2 separate regions of the Homo sapiens genome follow, and region 1 is linked to region 2. Evidence: promoter capture Hi-C in human tissues and cell types (Jung and others, 2019). All regions are on one chromosome and are shown on one strand. The core of a region is centred on a gene start or on the middle of the fragment in contact, and the rest is flanking DNA. Distances in the headings are between cores, read along the strand shown. Region 1 overlaps CEACAM3 (CEA cell adhesion molecule 3). Region 2 holds the start of CEACAM5 (CEA cell adhesion molecule 5).

Evidence for each region. The method cuts DNA at HindIII sites, captures the fragments that hold promoters and counts their contacts. A contact is called where the count stands out against the background at its distance.
Region 1: a fragment that was not itself captured here is called in contact with the fragment with the promoter of CEACAM5 in region 2 in 3 of the 25 tissues and cell types used here (heart left ventricle, stomach and thymus).

Annotation. Positions count from the first base shown.
Region 1 is chr19:41,802,568-41,807,365 of GRCh38, reverse strand. The region is part of intron 2 of CEACAM3 (CEA cell adhesion molecule 3); the gene reads right to left. It also overlaps the pseudogene LOC100422623. Among named protein-coding and RNA genes, the nearest start is that of CEACAM3, 8.4 kb to the right of the region's middle. The HindIII fragment of the contact is 7,650 bases long and covers 1-4,798 here.
Region 2 is chr19:41,705,765-41,709,875 of GRCh38, reverse strand. CEACAM5 (CEA cell adhesion molecule 5) reads right to left here and starts at 1,250. Exons shown (of 10, transcript NM_004363.6): 1 at 1,081-1,250; 2 at 1-196. The coding sequence starts at 1,144. RefSeq lists silencers at 2,860-2,909, 2,940-2,989, 3,010-3,129. The HindIII fragment of the contact is 20,290 bases long and covers 1-4,111 here.

The DNA.
Region 1 (4,798 bases), core at 1,445-3,944, 96 kb before region 2:
CACTGTAGCTGGCACCCACTGGGTTCGGTATTTCACACTCATAGGGTCCTGTGTCATTCCTTGTGACACTGAGTAGAGTGAGGGTCCTCTTGTCATTGGACAGCTGCAGCCTGGAACTGACCGGGAGGCTCTGACCATTTACCCACTACAGGCAGGTTGTGCTGTGAATCTCAGGTTCACAGGTGAAGGCCACAGCATCCTTGTCCTCCTTGGGGTTGGAGTTGTTGCTGGAGATGGAGGGCTTGGGCAGCTCCGCTGTGCAGAAAACAGAGAGAAGATTGCCCTGTGTGGCACCTGTGATTCCTCCACAGGCATATTTTAATCAGAATCAACATCTCCTATTCTTTGGCCAACTCCACTCCTTAAAAGACCAAGACAAGGCCGGGTGCGGTGGCTCACGCCTGTAATCCCAGCACTTTGGGAGGCCGAGGCGGGCGTATCACGAGGTCACGAGATCGAGACCATCCTGGCTAACACGGTGAAACCCCGTCTCTACTAAAAAATACAAAAAATTAGCCAGGCATGGTGGCAGGCGCCTGTAGTCCCAGCTACTTGGGAGGCTGAGGCAGGAGAATGGTGTGAACCCGGGAGGCAGAGCTTGCAGTGAGCCGAGATCGCACCACTGCACTCCAGCCTGGGCGACAGAGTGAGACTCTGTCTCTCAAAACAAACAAGCAAACAAACAAACAAACACACAAACAAAAAAAGACGAAGACAGATGTGTGTGTCACAGACAGATGCATGACCGTCTGAGGGCTCAGAGACTGTGAGGCTGCCTGCCTGTGAAAGAAGAAGAGACTTTCTCAACTGTGAATTAAGCAGCAGCATTGGGTGTTGGACAGACACAGGACCAGGAGTCACATCCCCTGGCACCTCTCCTGTTCCTTCCCTGATGGCTGACTGCCTGGCTGACCTTGGGGTCCTCACCTGGAACATGCTGGTGCTGAGGTCTCAGAATTACAAGGTGAGGTTATTCTTTCCAGGTATATCATGGTGACTGACATGAGACAGTGAGTCAGTAAAAGGTATAGTAGAAGGCCGGGTGCGGTGGCTCACACCTGTAATCCCAGCACTTGGGGAGGCCGAGGTGGGCAGATCACCTGAGGTCAGGAGTTCGAGACCAGCCTGACCAACATGGCGAAAAACCCAGTCTCTACTAAAAATACAAAAATTAGCTGGGTGTGGTGGAGCATGCCTGTAATTCCAGCTACTCGGGAGGCTGAGGAAGGAGAATCACTTGAACCTGGGAGGCAGAGGTTGTAGTGAGCCGAGATTACACGACTGCACTCCAGCCTGAGTGACAGAGCAAGACTCCGTAACAACAACAAACAACAAACAACAACAACAACAACAACAACAAACAACAACAACAGGAAGAGTAGAATCCCAACTTAGAAAGAGGGCGGGGACATGCAGGAGCTGGTGGCTTTGGAGCAGAACCATGTTCTCTGTCCTCAGTCCTTAATGTGTTTTCTCCTCCTGCAGAGGGCAGGTGAGGACTCCGTGGAACTTAATAAGAAATACATATGAACGTTTGCAAATGCAGAACTGACTGGTGGAAAGAGGGAGCATGAAGCTGCTGGCAATCTGGTCCTCATGGACTCTGTGTTTGATGGATATGAGAGAGACATTTGGGAAGAATCTTTGCAAATATTTTCTCCCATTGGAGATTATGTTAAGTGAAAGAAGTCAGTCGTACAAGGACAACTACTGTACGGTTCCACGAATACGAGGTCCCTAGAGTAGTCAAACTCATGGAATCAGAGAGTAGAATGCAGACCGGGTGCGGTGGCTCATGCCTGTAATCCCAGCCTTTTGGGATGCTGAGGCGGGCGGATCACCTGAGGTCGGGAGTTCCAGACCAGCCTGGCCAACATGGTGAAACCCCGTCTCTACTAAAAATACAAAAATTAGCCAGGTGTGGTGGCACATGCCTGTAATCCCAGCTACTTAAGAAGGCTAGGGAGAATTGCTTGAACCTGGGAGGCGGAGGTTGCAGTGAGCCAAGATCACACCATTGCACTCCAGCCTGGGTGACAAGAGTAAAACTCTATCTAAAAAAAAAAAAAAAAAAAAAAAAGAAGAAAAAAGAATAAAAGAGCAGAGTGGTGATTTCCAAGGGCTGGCAGGGAGTTGTTCCTTGGGTGTGCAGTTTCAATTATGCAAAATATGGAGGTTCTAGAGATCTGCTGTACAGCTTGGTGTCTATAATTAATAGAGTTTGAGTATCTCTTATGCATAAGAGCAAAAGTGTTTTGGATTTCTAATTATTTTTTATTTTGGAATATTTGTATTACAAGTATCGGTTTAGCATCCCAAATCTGAAAATCTAAAATTTCAAAATGCTCCAGTGAGCATTTCCTTTGAACATCATGCCAGTGGTCAAAAAATTTTGGATATTGGCACATTTTGTATTTTGGATTTTTGGATTTGGGATTCTCCATCTGTAATAGTCCATTTTGCCCTTAAAAATTTGTCAGGAGTTTAGACAAAGGAGTTATGATCTCACTATAGTGAAAAAAAAAAAAGAAATTTGGGGGAAATTAATTTTTTTTCTATCAGTGGAAATTATTATTAATGGTCGAAAGGTCTGAGGTCAATTGGTTGCTGTAGCATTTCTCTTGATAACATAATAAGGTTTAGGTCTGCTAAATGCTGAAGACCAGCATAATCATGTTAAGCTCAAAGAAAGATGCTGACTTTGGTTTGAAATCAGTGACTCTCTGGGTAGAGAGAGAATTGTGAGTCCTGTTAGGAAGACAGAACTGGTCAGAGGGAAAGTCTGAGATGTCTCAATAATACACAGAAAAGAAAAATACCAAATTAGGAGATGTGATGTGTGTATGTCAGTAAATGTCAAAAGAGCCCTCACCTCAATTTCCTGTGCAGAGTTAGGCAAAATAGGAAGGGGCCTAAACAGGCATATGAAACACCTTCCTCCTTTTCTTTACGCCTCAGGAAACACAACTAGAATTTGATTAAATTAGCCCGAATTGGGCAGAGTCTAAGTGAGATGCCGGTGGCTGGTGCATCTCCCCACCCGAAGACCCCATCTTATGATAATGGCATCATCATGAGGGACACATGTGTGTGGAACAAGCAGTGGGCCCATCAGACAGCACAGGGCTGGCCAGCTCCACCTGGTCCCAGGAACCACCAGTATTCCCATTACATGTATGTTACAGCTTTTAGAAAATATAAAATATGCCATTGTCAATACAAAATCTTGAATGTGAAGTTGAATCTGCTTTTCCACTTTTTTTACCCACTCTTTTTTTTTTTTTGAGGCAGAGTTTTGCTCTTGTTGCCCAGGCTGGAGTGAAATCGCGCTATCTTGGCTCACTACAATCTCTACCTCCCAGGTTCAAGCAATTCTCTTGCCTCAGCCTCCTGAGTAGCTGGGATTATAGGCATCTGTCATCATGCCTGGCTAATTTTTTGTATTTTTAGTAGAGACAGGGTATCATCATGTTGGCCAGGCTGGTCTCGAACTCCTGACCTCAGGTGATCCACCCGCCTCAGCCTCCCAAAGTGCAGGGATTACAAGCATGAACAACCACGCCCGGCCTTTTCCCACTCTTTTAAAGCTTTGCTGTTTCAGGCCGGGCATGGTGGCTCATGCCTGTAATCCCAGCACTTTTGGAGGCCAAGGCGGGCAGATCATGAGGTTGGGAGGTCGAGACCATCCTGGATAACACGGTGAAACTCCGTCTCTACTAAAAATACAAAAAATTAGCCGGGCATGGTGGCGGGCGCCTGTGGTCCCAGCTATTTGGGAGGCTGAGGCAGGAGAATGGCGTGAACCCAGGAGGCAGAGCTTGCAGTGAGCTGAGATAGCATCACTTCACTCCAGCCTGGGGTACAGAGCGAGACTCTGTCTCAAAAAAAAAAAAAACAAACAAAACAACACACACACACACACACACACACACACACACATACACACACAAAACTTTGCTGTTCAGTTTTGGAAGTTTCTACTGACACACCCTCAAGCTAGAGATTCTTTCCTCAGCTGTGTCCAGGCTACCAGTAAGCCCATTGAGGGCATTCTTCATTTACCTTACAGGAGGGTTTCTTTTTTTATCTCTAGCATTTCTTTTGGTTCTGTCTTAGAATATCGATCTCTCTGCTTACATCACCCATCTGTTCCTGCATGGGGTCTACTTTTTCCATCATAACCTTTACTGTATTAACCAGAGTTGTTTTAAATTCCCGTTCTGCTAATTTCAACATCCCTGCCACATCTGAGTCTGGTTCTGATTGTTGTTCTGAGTTTCAAATTGCATTTTTTTTTGTTTTTGCCTTAGTCTGTCTTGTGCAGTTTTGTTGAAAGCCAGACATGATATTCTGGGTAAAAGGAACTTGGGTGAGCAGGTGTTCAGTGACGCTGTGGTGAGTGTTGGGAGGGAAGGGTTCTGTGGTCCTGGATGAGGTCTGCAGCCTGGGCTGTGAACTTCATAAGTGACTCTCTGTATTTTTGCCCCCTTAGGTGGGACATGATGGCTACAGGGGGCTGGAGTTGGACATTTACCCACTGCCAGGCCAGTTAGGCTCCCATAAAACCCCAGCAGGTCAGGCTCTGGTAAAAGTTTCTCTTAAAGGCAGCTGTTGCTAAGAAGAATAGAATTCACGGAGATCTTTCCAAATAATTCCTTTCCCCCTCCCGCTTCAGGAAGGAGGAGGGGATCTTTGTTGCCTATTCACTATGAGAATCTGGTAGCTCTAGGAGTTAAGACTCACAAAAGAGTCCCTCCTTGTCCCAGCCCCAAGATTGATCCCTCCCCTGGAGTGTTTA
Region 2 (4,111 bases), core at 1-2,500:
TGAGTTCCTATTACATATCCTATAATTTGACGGTTGCCATCCACTCTTTCACCTTTGTACCAGCTGTAGCCAAAAAGATGCTGGGGCAGATTGTGGACAAGTAGAAGCACCTCCTTCCCCTCTGCGACATTGAACGGCGTGGATTCAATAGTGAGCTTGGCAGTGGTGGGCGGGTTCCAGAAGGTTAGAAGTGAGGCTAGGAGAGAGCAGAGAGCATCGGTCAATATTGGGACCTATGCATTAGGGTGGAAAAATGGGGTCCTGGGTCCTGAGCAGGTCTCTTCATCCCCCAGCCCTGGAGTGAGTGAGTGTGTGTGTGTGTGTGTGTGTGTGTGTGTCCTACTAGGTCAAGGTCAGCAGTGTGTCTCCTATTTCCTTAGCACCTCTGACCTTGGCATTTCCCTGTGTGGAATCTGCTTTTCCAGGGGTCTTCACGGCTCCCTCCCCATTGCCTTCAGGTCCTGCTCACATCAGGGCATTCTTGGGAGATCCCTTCCCTGACACCTCCTCTAGAGACCCTGGGTCTTCCTTTTCTGACCTTTCCCTGCTCTATTCCCTCCAGGGCTCTTGTCAACACCTGACCTCACATTCTAGATCTCTTTGTATGTCTGTCTTCCTCCCCATGAGAGCATGAGCTTCATGAGGGCAGGGATTTGTGTGATCTTGGTTGCACCCCAGTGCCTGGGACAGGCTGCAGATTCCTGTGGATGAGTTCATGAGGGTTCCCAGGGCCCTCCACAGCCTGGGGCTTATTTTCCAATGTCCGCGGTAGGCGGATGAGGACAGTGTTTCATGCCCTGGTTATGTTTTTATTTAAAGTGTCATCTGATGCAGTTATTATGATTTTTAAAAACGTAGTGGCCAGTGACAATTAACTAGGAAAATAGAACTCTTGAGGTTTTCCTGCCCCTTTCCAATTCCAGTTCAATTTGATTTTTCTGGTGTGACTCCTGTCCCTCTCTGATGTCCTCTTCCCTATTCAGGCTCCAACAGGAGCCCTCTGTCCGTCTCACAGCCCTGTCCTACCCAGGAGACCCCAGCTCCCTCCTCCCACCCTCTCCCAGGTTGTCCTCCCTTCACCTGTGAGCAGGAGCCTCTGCCAGGGGATGCACCATCTGTGGGGAGGGGCCGAGGGAGACTCCATGGTCTCTGCTGTCTGCTCTGTCCTCCTCTGTGGAGAAGAGCTTGAGTTCCAGGAACGTTTTGTCAAGGCTGCTGTGACTGTCTGGTCTGCTGTCCTTCCTCCCTCTGCCCTGAGTCTCTTCCTAGGGCAGGAGTACTTCTCAGCATCACGTGGGTCATGGGTGTGGTCTTTATTCAGGTGTCCTCTGTCCCCTCCCCTCTCATTTCTGCCTCTTTTGTCCCTCCTCTTTTTTCCCTTCTATTTTCAGTTCCTCAGACAAATCTTTTCGGCAAGGTGGATGGACCCCCATCCCCTGGGAGGACAACCTGTCTTCCCCAGTGCTGACCTCTGCTGTGTTCTGTCCTTGGGTCTGTCACACCAGGGGGATTATTTTCCTTTGTGACAGAGAAACCCAGCAGGGTCCCGGGTCTCCCCATGCTCTCCAGGGCTCTGGGAAGGTGGGATGATGCCCAACAGGAAGGTGACAGAGGTGGCTCTGGGGGCTAGAAAAAGGCTCACTGGGTGGTGGCTGGGGAGGGACCAGCCCTCTGTCTCCAGTACCACCAACCCCGCCACTGACCCAGGGATGGAGACCCAGGCCCAGAGGTCTCAGGAGTCCCCAGATCCTGCATGTGGAGGGGGAGGTGTCTTGTGTGTCCTGGAAAGAGAGGACTGTGGTGGAGGGAGGTGGGTGACTCTGGGCTCTGCTGTCCTTGGGGAAGGCTCCAGGGGGACCCTCCCTCTCCGTGTCTGTTGGCTGAGCTGCGGCTCAGGGCCTGTCCATGTTCTCCCTGACAGTCCTGGGTGGTCTCTGTCCTCTGCGAGGCTGACTGTCCTGTGATCACCCCACCTTCCCCATGGTGGTACCAGGAGGGAGTCTGGAGTTGCACAGGGACCCCTGGCAGAACAGGGTCCTCATAGGACCCAGAAAGGAACAGAGCAGGTATGTGGGAGAGATCAGAAGGGTCTGTTGGAGCAAGGGATGGAAACCAGGCTCCACCTCCACTTCCTTAGCAAAGCCAGGTTCCTGTCCAGGGGAATCCGTTTCCTGAGTGATGTCTGTGTGCAATGTCACCCCCTGGAGGGCAAGAGGAGACCTCCGGCCTTGTCTGGAACTGCCCTAGGGATGCTGACCAGGGTCGACGTGGTGTGAGCTGACCCTGAACTCTGGATTAGGCTGCAGGGTCAGGCCGGAGGATCTATTCCCTGCAGGCCTCTGTCCTCCCTTCTGAAGCTCTGGGGGTTGAGGCCTCATTCCTGGGGCAGCCGCGGGCACTTGCTGGCCTCCTCCCATGCTGGTGCCAGTGCCCCTGTGTCCACATGGAACAGACTCTGACTGCTGGGGGCCACACGGAGGTGATATGCTTCTTTTTAGAGATCTCCCACACATTTAACCAGTATTTATGGAGCATCTGTTCCGTGTCAGGCACTGGGCTGGGCCCTGGGATTCCACAGAGAGCAGGACAGACGTGGTCCCTGTCACAGAGTTTTCCTGTAACCGGGAGACAGGCGCTCAGTGAACTTCATGGGACTGAGGAGTTAATGGTAATGACAGGGCTGTGAGGTGACAGCATAGGGGGCGTCGGAGCCTGTGAGAGACTGAGCTGTCCTGGAGATCACAGGGAGCTGCCCTGGGAGACGCCCTTTCAGCTGAGCCCGGGGAAGGAGGGGGTGTAGGGGACAGGAGCTGCCTGCAGAGGGCAGCCGACAGGCCTCAAGTGGGCGGCCGACAAGCCTCAGGTGGGCGGCCGATAGGCTGCAGGGAGGAGCTGACAGAGTCCGTGTGAGGAGCTCGGAGGGCGAGGAGGACGTGGGCCGAGGTGACCCGGGTGAGGGTGGACCCTGCTGGGCTGTGGGCCCGGCTGAGGGAGGTCAGCAGCCCCTGGGGAGGCTCCAGGGTGGGAGGAACTCTGCCGCCCTCTGGTGGACAGGAGGGAAGTGGGGACAGCAGCGGCCCCAGACCAGGCTGTTTTACTCAACACTGATCTCTAGACATTGAACACGGGTCATGCACATGTTATGCCAAAGTGCTACCAGGTTTCAGCTCGGTGAGCCCCAGTCTCTGTGGCTACAAGTGTACTGTCCTCCCTCTTTCACAATCAGATGTCCCCAAATGCAGATTTTTGTCACCTTTTGTGACTTTGCTTTTGTCGGCAGGAGGCTGCGCTGTGCATGCTCCCAGGGGCAGTGATGTCTGGGGCTAAGCGTGTGCGGGGATCTGGGAGTAGAAGATTGTATTAGTCTGTCCTCGCATTGCTATAAAGAAATACCTGAGACTGGGTAATTTATAAAGAAAAGAGGTTTAATTCGCTCATCATTCTGCAGTTGTACAGGAAGCATAGTGGCTTCTGCTCCTGGGGAGGCCTCAGAAAACTTACAATCATTCTGGACGGTGAAGGGGAAACAGGAACGTCTTACATGGCAGAGCATGAGTAAGAGAGAGAGAGAGAGAGGGGAGAGGTGCTACACACTTTTAAACAACCAGATCATGTGAGATCTCTATCACAGAAACAGCATCAAAGCAGAAAATCCACCCGCATTATCCAATCACTTCTCACAAGGCCCCACCTCCAACATTGGGGTTTACAATTTGACATGAGATTTGGGCGGGGACATAGATCCAAATCATATTTGAGAGAGAGGGGCATGAGGAGAAGGTGAATGTTGGGGTAGCAGAGAGGAGCAGGGACAAGTCAACCTCACTTCTCACTCCCTGGGGACCAGAACAGGAGAGCCCGACTCTGGGGGCACAGCACCACACACTCTGTGTGTCCGTGCATCAGGGGAGGTGGGAGCTGCTTCTCTGTTCATGGGACCTGGCCTCACCTGCTGAGATGTCTTCACACTTAGTCCCATCCTGGGCTGCAGCCCCACAGAGCCTGTGTCCTCCTCTCCTCTCCTGCCCATTCCTGGATTTTTCTTCCTGAACCATCTTCTCCCATCTGTGGCTTCACCTGCTCCCGTTTCAGGCAGCTGCCCCTGGATCAT